2 separate regions of the Homo sapiens genome follow, and region 2 is linked to region 1. Evidence: promoter capture Hi-C in 16 types of primary human blood cells and fetal thymus (Javierre and others, 2016). All regions are on one chromosome and are shown on one strand. The core of a region is centred on a gene start or on the middle of the fragment in contact, and the rest is flanking DNA. Distances in the headings are between cores, read along the strand shown. Region 1 holds the start of MTRF1 (mitochondrial translation release factor 1). Region 2 overlaps WBP4 (WW domain binding protein 4).

What was found. Contacts are between HindIII fragments. The CHiCAGO score rates a contact against its expected background, and 5 or more counts as called.
Region 2: a contact is called between a fragment that was not itself captured here and the fragment with the promoter of MTRF1 in region 1, in 1 of 17 cell types (megakaryocytes). The highest score is 5.2, in megakaryocytes.

The regions. Positions count from the first base shown.
Region 1 is chr13:41,259,446-41,264,853 of GRCh38, reverse strand. MTRF1 (mitochondrial translation release factor 1) reads left to right here and starts at 1,278. Exons shown (of 10, transcript NM_004294.4): 1 at 1,278-1,369; 2 at 3,939-4,361. The coding sequence starts at 3,947. RefSeq lists a silencer at 983-1,072 and an enhancer at 1,360-1,860. The HindIII fragment of the contact is 4,724 bases long and covers 1-4,466 here.
Region 2 is chr13:41,078,284-41,083,984 of GRCh38, reverse strand. It overlaps WBP4 (WW domain binding protein 4), which reads right to left. Exons shown (of 10, transcript NM_007187.5): 9 at 3,176-3,339; 10 at 1-1,281. The coding sequence ends at 1,071. Among named protein-coding and RNA genes, the nearest start is that of WBP4, 20 kb to the right of the region's middle. The HindIII fragment of the contact is 4,999 bases long and covers 8-5,006 here.

The DNA of each region.
Region 1 (5,408 bases), core at 29-2,528:
CAGGGTGGCCCTATATCAGAGCTTAGGAGCCACAGATCATTAAAGCCATTGCCTTAATTGAGTCTTGGCTCTATCACTTACTGTTTTTTACCTTGGAGTAGTTACTTTAGCTCTGTGTGCCTTAATTTTCTCCTCTGCAAAATAAGTATTTTAAGGTTGTAAAAATTAAATGAATTAATAGGGTAAAACCATTTAGAACAGTATTTAGTACATAGTACATAGAAGTAGGTACCTTGAAGTTGGCTATAAACGTTAGATATTATTTTGCATATATAGCTAATTCTCCTATCTATGTATGTGATTATAATCTAAGAAAATACTCTGTAAAGTCAGTAATATGGTACATTTTTTGCCTTTTCTTTCAGGAAGAAAAATTGAGGCATGGAGATAGAAAGACTGTAAATTGCGATAGCCAAGGGCTGGATCCCACTGGATTAGTCAAAGTAGGACAATATGCTTGCATTTTCCTGCAATTGTTTATTAACTGGAGTTTTCATTCTTCACTTAATCAGTGGTTCATAAGCTATGAATCTAGGTTGAGCCCCTACATTCCCATGTGCAAAGAACATTATAAAATCACTAACATGTGGAAATACACGGTCTCCTAACTTTTGGGGCTGTTACTACTTTTAAAATATAAATTTATTTGTATTATCCTTTAGTCATTAGGTATTTTCTGAAGCAATGGAAGCTGAAAGTATAGAAATTACACGCAGAATCTTCTACATTTGTGGATGATGTAAAAGGAGTCTTTATTTTTTTTAAATATTGGAAAACAGTGCTTTACGGGCTTCTAATACATAAGGAAATTATTGTAATTTCACATGCAATGTGTTCTAAATCTTGATCTCTTAATCAGAATCGTAAAGAATCTCTCTTCTAGGTTTGCAGTTAACGGTGAAAACCAAAAACTCCACATTTGGCTGGATAGTGAGTGGAGGGGGTTGGAGGCTGCCGCAAGGTAAACTACAACTCCCAGGATTCTTTGGTGGGCGCTCTGGGAGTTGTAGTTTAGTCCCACCTTGGCCCCTCCCTCCCTCCCTCCCTCCCACCATCTCCATCCCCGCTCTGGGCTCACGCTCTGGATAAGGACGGCGCGGGGGCGGTTGTCTGATGACAATTTCATTCTCGTTTTGTCATTTTTCTCATTTAGCTCATTTTTGTCATTTTAGTCCATTGTTAGGCATGCTCGAGGACAACTCCTCCGGAGAGCGGTAGTGGCGGAGGAGGGGCCGGGAGCGTGCGTTAACCCGGAAGAAGTGAACCAGGAAGTGAACGTGATCTCGGGTTTGTCGGGCTGAAATGTGGCGGGTCTCGGAAGGTTCCGACCTCAGTAAAGAGAGCTAACGTGTATTCTTCTTTTTCTTAGGTACTCACAGTTCTTTCCTGATCTTCCCCGCCGCCTCCTGTATTGCCTCTTTATGGAATCACTCCATATACTGAGTTACACAGCATGGTTTGCCCGTGCTGCTGCCCCGCGGGCTGTCGCTTCTGACCTGCCTACACTCAGAACTTTCCCCAAAGCATCAGAGTAATACTGTTACTGTGATGGGTAATGGAGAAGTCGTGCTGTTCTCAGGTGTAGTTAACCTTGGAGAGTAAACATCTTGTTTTGTTTTGTTTTCCTTAATGTTGAGATTCATGACCTTGAAAATTATGCATTCTACTACTGTTCCTAAAATGGAAATTTTAGCAATAAGTATTCGTACAAACATATATTTGTCATCCTTTTATTCTGTCTGTTAGCAAATGGATACACTTTCTCTAACGTGCTTGAAATACGGGGGTGGTGGAGTGTAACGTTTGTGACAGCTGGCCATTGGTGCTTTCTTCAACAGTTCTTTTAATAATGTGATGCAGTATCCTAAAATCTATCAGTAGAACTCTGGAAACTGAATATTTTAAAGACCATTCTGACTATTTTATTTCCTAGGTGATAATGCTAAGTTAACAGACTTATAGTGAACAAATGAGCTAATATATCAATGCACCTCCTAGCATAGTAGGATCACTGGAGACAGTAAAGTTTGATTTTGATAAATGTTGATCCTTCTTTTTTTGAGTTGAGTCTCACTGTGTTGCCCAGGCTGGCCTTGAACTCCTTGGCTCAAGTGATCCTCCTGCCTCAGTCTCCTGGGTAGCTGGGACAATAGGTGCATGCTACTGTGCGTGGCTTGACCCTTATTTCAACTTTGAACCTTAGAGTTTTCTTAGAACACTTTATATTCTCCCTTTCTTACTCAGTAAGACCATTGTGTACTTTTGTTAGCTCTTGATTATCTCTGTTGGAGGGGAGGAGAACAGAAAATTATTGTACACAGCCAATTTCACCTAACCTGTAATTTTTTAAACTAATCTTTTTTTATGATTAGGAAAGTATTCCATGCTACATGTGCAAGAAACTTGGAAAACACTGAAAAGTAGAAAAAATAGCAAGCAAAAGGTATTCATAATCTCACAACTAGAGATCATTTTATTAACATTTTGGTATGTTTCTTTTTTTTTTTTTTTTTTTGAGACAGCGTGTTGCTTTGTCGCCCACGCTGGTTGCAGTGGTGCGATCTCAGTTCACTGCAACCTTCGCCTCCCAGGTTCAAGCGATTATCCTGCCTCAGCTTCCCGAGCAGCTAGGACTACAGGTGTGTGCCATCACGCTCAGCTAATTTTTTTGGTATTTTTAGTAGAGATGGGGTTTTCCCATGTTGGCCAGGCTGGTCTCGAACTCCTGACCTCAGATGATCTGCCCGCCTCGGCCTCCCAAAGTGGTAGGATTACAGGCGTGAGCCACTGTGCTCGGCACATTTTGGTATGTTTCTTATTTAACTTTCTTTTTAAAAAATACTCTATGTGCTTTTTTTTTTTTACATGTATACCTTATATTGTAGAATATTTTTTAAATGTAATTGAGATTCTATTTTGTTCCTTGCCTTTCTTGCTTAATATAATTGTCACCATTTAATATAACTGTAGAGCTTTTCACCAGCCCTACTTTCTTGGTCTATTAATACTTGAACTTTTCTTCCTTTAGGATCTCAGCTAAACGGGAAGCATTTTTGAAAAGTGATTGCACAATTGAGAGTGAAAATTACTGAGTCCTGAACAGGCAACTTACATTCTAATACCAGCTCTGTCTCCATCCAGCCGACTGAATAGTCGTGATTAAGTTACTTGACTTCCTTGGATATCTAGATCCTTAAAGTTAAAGAATTATACAAGATAATAATATTTTCTTCAAACTTTAGAAAATGACTTTATGAACCGCCTTAAGTTTGTATGTTTTCATAGCTTTCAAGAGCTTGTTTACACACTCAATTCTAGATTCTAGATACTTTCTAGAAAATAACTGACTTAACTCATTCAATTGATATATTTGTTAGTTGTACTCCTACTCATATGCTTCAGTTAATTATATATGTTGAACAGGTAGGAAGCAGTGCTGTTTTTATTTATTTTAATATGTTATTCATACATTTGAAGAATTATGTTCTTTCTGTAGGCAGCTGAATTTTTTTTTTTTTTGAGACGAAGTCTTGGTATTGTCCCCCTTGCTGGAGTGCAATGGCATGATCTCGGCTCACTGCAACCTCTGCCTCCTGGGTTCAGGCAATTCTCCTGCCTCAGACTCCTGAGTAGCTGGGATTACAGGCGCCTGCCACCACGCCCGGATAATTTTTGTATTTTTAGTAGAGACAGTGTTTCACTATGTTGGCTGGGCTGGTCTCGAACTCCTGCCCTCAGGTGATCCGCCTGCCTCAGCCTCCCAAAGTGCTGGGATTACTGGCGTGAGCCACTGCTGCCAGCCGGCAGTTGAATTTTAAGACTGTGGAGCTGGCTGAGGCAGTAGATGAAACAAGATTTCTTGATGTTCCTTCCAGGTTTATTATGCATGTATCTTTAGAGATGATTTTTTTTTAAAGACTGTGTTTATTGTATTTCAGATGCTGAGATGAATCGTCACCTGTGTGTTTGGCTTTTTAGACATCCATCTCTTAATGGTTACCTCCAGTGTCACATCCAGCTCCATTCTCATCAATTTAGACAGATACATCTTGATACAAGGCTGCAAGTTTTTAGACAAAACAGGAATTGCATTCTTCATCTGTTAAGTAAGAATTGGTCCAGGAGATATTGCCATCAAGACACCAAGATGCTCTGGAAGCATAAAGCACTACAGAAATATATGGAGAACCTGAGTAAGGAGTACCAAACACTTGAGCAATGTCTGCAGCATATCCCTGTGAATGAGGAAAACCGAAGGTCCTTGAACAGAAGGCATGCTGAGTTGGCACCTCTTGCAGCCATTTACCAAGAAATTCAGGAGACTGAACAAGCAATTGAAGAATTAGAATCAATGTGTAAAAGTAGGTAAAAGATACTTATGTGTCCTGCATAAGGGCTATGAAAAAAAAAACCACACACTTATATGCGTGTGTGTAAGTACAGATTTGATTTTCTAAGTTAAAGCTTTATTGAACTTAGTCTTTGTTTTTTTTTTCCCACAGAAGCAGGTTCTCACTTGTTGCCCAGGCAGGAGTGCAGTGACTCAATCGTAGCTCACTGTAACCTGTAAGTCCTGGCCCCCCACTTCAGCATCCTGAGTAGCTAGGACTATTGTGCCAGGGCTTTCCAAAGCGATATGATTATAGCCACCGAGCCACTGAGGCTGGCCTGAACTCAGTCTTTTAAAAAAACCTACAAGTAATAAGCTCAACACTTGGAAAGAACAGGACTCTGTACCCAGAGTATTTGACACACTTTAGCTACTAAAGATCAATGTACTAAGTAAACAGGCTCCTCGTGGTACTTCCCGTGGTCTCAAGGTCTGGGAGACAAAATGTTGGTCTTTTCAGAAGCTTTATTTTATTGAGCAGACCTTTATTGAACACTGTACCTACATACTAGGGCTACACATACAGTTCCTACCCCATCAGTGGGCTTCTATGGTCCAGTGAGAGAAACTTATTTAAGTATTGTTTATAATGTGAGACCTGCTCTACTAGAGGGAGGCACAGTTTCATGGGAGCAAAGAGGAGAGGGCACTCAAACCAGCCTGGATTGATTGGGTAAATCTTCCTGGAGGGGACTGCGCATTAGTGGAACCAGGAAGGAAGCTTTTATTTTTTATTTTTATGTTTTTTTTTTTTTTTTTTTTGAGACGGAGTCTCGCTCTGTCGCCCAGGCTGGAGTGCAGTGGCGGGATCTCGGCTCACTGCAAGCTCCGCCTCCCGGGTTCACGCCATTCTCCTGCCTCAGCCTCCCAAGTAGCTGGGACTACAGGCCCCTGCCACCATGCCCAGCTAATTTTTTTTGTATTTCAGTAGAGACGGGGTTTCACCATGTTGGCCAGGCTGGTCTCAAACTCCTGATCTCAAGTGATCCACCCACCTTGGCCTCCCAATGTGCTGGGA
Region 2 (5,701 bases), core at 1,258-3,757, 180 kb after region 1:
ATAAGCTTTTTTCTTACATGTACAGTCATCTTAAAAAGACAAATATTAACTATTATAAGTTAAATACTATACAATTTATGAGAAATGTAATTTTGTGAATTTGAAAAGTAAAAGGGAGGTAACTACTAAACGGATTAAAGAAGAAAATTCTACTTTTTAAGACATTTTAACCAGACAGAAAGTGAGAAATTACTAATTTAAGTAAACACTAAAAACTTTTACTGAAGCTGGAGACCTTATACTATTTTAGATCAAGCCTTCATCTACACAGCTTTAAATAAACTTTAAAAAATCTTTTCTAGTACATATAAGACTGCTAAAAAGAGTGCATGACTGGGGGAAAAAAGGCATATGCTAGAATGTGAACTCCTGAAGAACAGAAATACATTTCATTCATCTTTATCCCTGGATTCCTAACACAATGCCTGGTTCAAACTAAAATGCTTAAACAACGTTTGCTGCTTTGAAGTGAACTGGGGCAAATACATCTTTCCACCTCTGGTCCAGTTTTCACTCCATATTAAGCACATCTGAAGTACCTGAGCTGCTCCTGGCTGTTGGCTTTTGACTTTAAATTGAGTAAGGTAAGCCAATATGCATACATTTTTTACATCAGCTTTCTCACATCAGCCTCAGAACCAAATCATCACTGGGCTGGGAATATTCTCACGTACTCCGATACTTATTTGTTGGACAACAGTTAATATCAATGTGCAAAAGTAATGCATTTTCAATGCAGGATAAATATGCTCTTATGAATATGAATGGAATAAAGGCCCTGTTTCTCCATGTTTTAAATAACAGATACATAGCATCTTAAATTATGACTTAATTAGCAGTTTTTAGACACTGAACATAATACACTGTATTACAATGCAATGTGGTAGGCTTCCATTTTAGGAACCAAAATAAATTTCACATGAAAAAATATTTATTTTAATTCACATCAAATACATTTAGAATAAATCTAAATTTTTAGCATCATAATACTTACAAACAAACACAGATAAACTTTGGGTGTATAAGTCTCCATTCTGTCCTAAAAGCATGTACAAAAAGCTCTCCTGCAACTATTGATCATCACCTCGTTGCCTTAAATTTCTAGATTTTCCATTTTCAGTTCTTCTCTTTTTGAAGACTGGGGCCACTCCATCTGCCATAACTCCAAGAGAAGTGACTGTTTTTTCTTTAAATACCACTTTGGGTTCTCCGCCACCATCAGCTTCTGAAGTTGATACATACTCATTTTCAGTGCTTGGAAGTTCCAAATCTACCTCCTCACTGGAAATAGAGTTAAAGTAAAACTCTATTTGACAGGGTAAGACAAACGTTTTCATATAACCAATGCCCCAAGATCAGCTTTCTAATGACATTAGAAGTTGCTCATTTTGGAGTAGGAACTACTTTAAAATACTGACTTTACAATATTATTTAAGATACTGAACACTTATTCAGGTGGATAAATGCTGGGAGAAGTTCTATGTATTAATTTATTCCTGTTGCACAAAGGATGCATTATCTAAGAAAATGCTTGGGCTTATATATAAGCAGTACAAGTAAAGGGATAAGGGGGTTGGGTGCGGTGGCTCAATCTTGTAATCCCAGCACTTTGAGAGGCCGAGGCAGGAGGATCACTTGAGCTCAGGAGTTTCGAGATGCGCCTGGGTAACATGGCAAAACCCCATTGCTACAAAAAATACAAAAATTATCTGGGCATGGTGTCATGTGCCTACAGTCCCAGCTACTCGAGAGGCTGAGGTGAGAGGATCACTTCAGCCTGGGAGGCAGAGGTTGCAGCGAGTCGAGATCTCATTTTCCTATTGTAGAAGACTGAATGGAGCTGTATGCCTAGCACTCCTTTGCTAAGAACTAGCCCTTCAACCATCCACATGATTAATTATAAATAATCAGTTGAGTGGTCCTGATATCAGCACCTGATTAAAAAGAGCCTATCACAGTACCGTACTCCCTAGATAGTCAACTGGTCTGTGAAAGAGTAAATTAGTCACATCACACCCATCAGTCCCATCTATGAGACTCTGGAAAATGGACCGGAAAGATCGTTATGTTTAAGTAGCTGAGAGCGTAAAACCTGTTGAAAAACACACATCATCCTATTTGGAGAATGGAGCTCTGCAGAAGGCAATCTATTCCAAGGATTTTTTCTTTTTAGGACAGAGTCTTGCTCTGTCTCCCAGGCTGGAGTGAAGTGGTGCCATCATAGCTCAAAGCAGCCTCCAACTCCTGGGCTCAAGTGAACCTCCTGCCTTAGCCTCCCAAGGTACTGGGCTTATAGGCGTGGGCCACTGCACCTGCCTGGCCAGCAAGGACCTTCTTTGCTATCAGTTATCATAGGCTGTTTTAAGTTATAAAACTAAATAGCAACACTGAATCCTATAGAAATGTACTTTGCTGAGTAATACTTGAGTTGCTGCAATATTTGCTTATCTATTTAGTTTTTACATTTTTTTTTTTTTTTTTTTTTTGGAGACAAGGTCCTACTCTGTTGCCCAGGCTGGAGTGAAGTGGTGTGAACATGGCTCACTGCAGTCTCAACCTCCTGGGCTCAAGTAATCCTCCCACCTCAGCCTCTCAAGTAGCTGGGAACATGATGTGTGCCACTATTCCCTGCTAAGTTTTTTTTTTTTGGTAGAGAGAAAGTTTTGCCATGTTGGCCAGGCTGGTCTCGAACTCCTGACCTCAGTTGATCTGCCTGCCTTGGCCTCCTGAAGTGCTGGGATTACAGGCGTGAGCCACCTCACCCAGCCAAGCTATACTTTTTCTTTTTCGAGATGGAGTCTTGCTCTGCTGCTAGGCTGGAGTCCAGTGGCGCGATTTCAGCTCACTGCAACCTCCACCTCCTGGGTTCAAGCGATTCTCCTGCCTCCACCTCCTGAGTAGCTGGGATCACAGCTACATGCCACCACACCCAGCTAATTTTTGTATTTTTAGTAGAGACAGGGTTTCACCATGTTGGCCAGGATGGTCTCATCTCTTGACCTCGTGATCCGCCCACCTCAGCCTCCCAAAGTGCTGGGATTACAGGGGTGCATCTGGCCTCAAGCTATACTTTTAATAAGCACAGCATCCTTGAAATTACTTACTGCAATTTAGGGAAGTACTGGGATGTAAAATCACTTGTAATAACAGTGGGATTAAAGCTCCAGGTACTTACTGAGACTCAACCTCTTGTTTAATTTCTTGCCATTCTCCATATGGGTTTGATTTCTTAAGAGTTTTCGATTTTTCTTCATTTGAACCTAATGAATTCTGTTTCTGAATACTTTTTTCTTTCTGTGTTTCTGGGTCACTTCCTCCATCACTATTTTTATTTTTTTCCTGAAATGTAAAAGCCAAGAAATAATACAGTTCAAGCAAAACTACCAAGACAAAAATAAAATTTAAGGCTTTTAAAGGTATTGTTATAGATTTATAAACAATAATTCACTAACTCAAATCTGCACATAACACAATAAATATACATAGAACTTTACTGCTTGATTAGGTTTTCCATGTCTGAAATGTTGATATACCATGACAAAGGCTCCCTAAATCACCACCTTAATGTCTTAAGTTCTACAATTAAGGACATATAAACAGGGCTCTCTTAACTTCTCTCTTCTGCTTTCTTGCTTTACTTGCATACCCAACAGTGACTCCCTTTATAATTGTGGCTCTGTTGAATTCTTCTGGGAGGCGGCAAGATTATAGGGAGTTTGTCCTTGTTTACCTGTATTTTGTAATTTTTTTCCTTTTCCTATAATTTATCTTTTAAAAAATAACTTAGGGGGCACAAATGCGTATTTCTTACATGTATATATTATGTCATGGTGAAGTACGGGCTTTTAGTGTACCTATAACCTGAACAGTGAACAAACCCAATAGACACATGTTCAACTCACCTCCCTCCCACCCTCCCACCTTTTATGGTCTCCACTGTCTATTAGTCCATTCTGTATGTCCATGTGTGCCCACTGTTTAGCTCCCACTTATAAGTGAGAACATGTAGTATTTGACTTTGAGTTATTTCACTTAGGTTAATGGCCTCCAGTTCCATTCACATAGCTGCAAAAGCTATCATTTCATTTTTTATGGCTGAGTAGTATTCCATGGTGTGTGTGCGTGTGTATATATACCGCATTTTTTTTATCCAATCCTCCGTTGACGGACACTTAGGTTGATTTACTTTTTGCTATTGTGAACAATGCTGCTACAAATATATGAGTGCAAGTATCTTTTCTGTTTAATGATTTCTTTTCCTTTGGGTAGATACTCAGAAGTGGGACTGCTGGATTGAATAACAGTTCTGCTTTTAGTTCTCTGAGAAATGTTTTCTATAAAGGTTATACCAACATACATTCTCAGTAAGTGTATAAGTGTTTCCCTTTCTCTGCATCCTTGCCAGTATCTGTTGTTTTCTGATTTTTTTTTTTTTTTTTTTTTGAGACGGAGTCTTGCTCTGTCACCCAGGCTGGAGGGCAGTGGCATGATCTTGGCTTACTGCAACCTCTGCCTCCCAGGTTCAAGCAATTCTCCTGCATGCGCCACCATGCTCGGCTAATTTCTTTTGCATTTTTAGTAGAGATGGGGTTTCACCATGTTGGTTAGGCTGGTCTTGAACTCCTGACCTCAAGTATCTGCCAGCCTCAGCCTCCCAAAGTGTTGGGATTACAGGTGTGAGCCACTGCATCCAGCCATTTTCTGACTTTTTAATTACAGCCTTCTGACTGGTGTAAGATGGTATCTCCTTGTGATTTTCATTTGCATTTCTCTGATGATCAGTGATGTTGAGCATTATTCATGTGTTTTGGCCACCTGTGTGTCTTTTGAAAAATGCCTGTTCATGTCCTTTTCCCCCTTTTCAATGGAGTTGTTTTTTTCTTGTTGAGTCCCTTGCGGATTCTGGATATTAGTCCTGTGTTGGATGCATAGTTTGCAAACAGTTTTTCCCAATATGTGGGCTGTTTATTTACCCTGTTAATTGTTTCTTTTGCTGTGCATAAGCTTTTTAATTAAGTCCCTCCCATTTGTCTATTTTTATTTTTGTGTTTACTTTTGAAGACTTTGTCGTAAATTCTTTGCTTACGTCAATGACCAGATGAGTTTTTCCTAGATTTCCTTCTAGGATTTTTTTTTTCTTTTCCTTTTTCTTTTTTTGAGACAGAGTTTCACTCTTGTCGCCCAGGCTGGAATGCAACGGCACGATCTTAGCTCACTGCAACCTCCGCCTCCCAGGTTCAAGCGATTCTCCTGCCTCAGCCTCCCAAGTAGCTGGGATTACAGGCATGCGCCAGGACACCCAGCTAATTTTCTATTTTTAGTAGAGATGGGGTTTCTCTATGTTGGTCAGGCTGGTCTTTAACTCTCGACCTCAGGTGATCCGCCCACCTCGGCCTCCCAAAGTGCAGGGATTACAGGTGTGAGCCACCATGCCTGGCCTCCTTCTAGGGTTTTTATAGTTTCAGATCTTTAAACATTTAAGTCTTTAATCCATCTTAACTTTTGTACATGGTTAGAGGTAGGGGTCCAGTTTCATTCTTCTGCATACAGCTAGCCAGTTTTCCCAGGATCATTTATTGAATGGGGTATCCCTTCCCCAGTGTATATTTTTGTTGATTTTGTTGAAGATCAGTTGGTTGTAGGTATGTGGCTTTATTTCTGGGTTCTCTATTCTGTTCCATCAATCTATGTGCCTATCTTT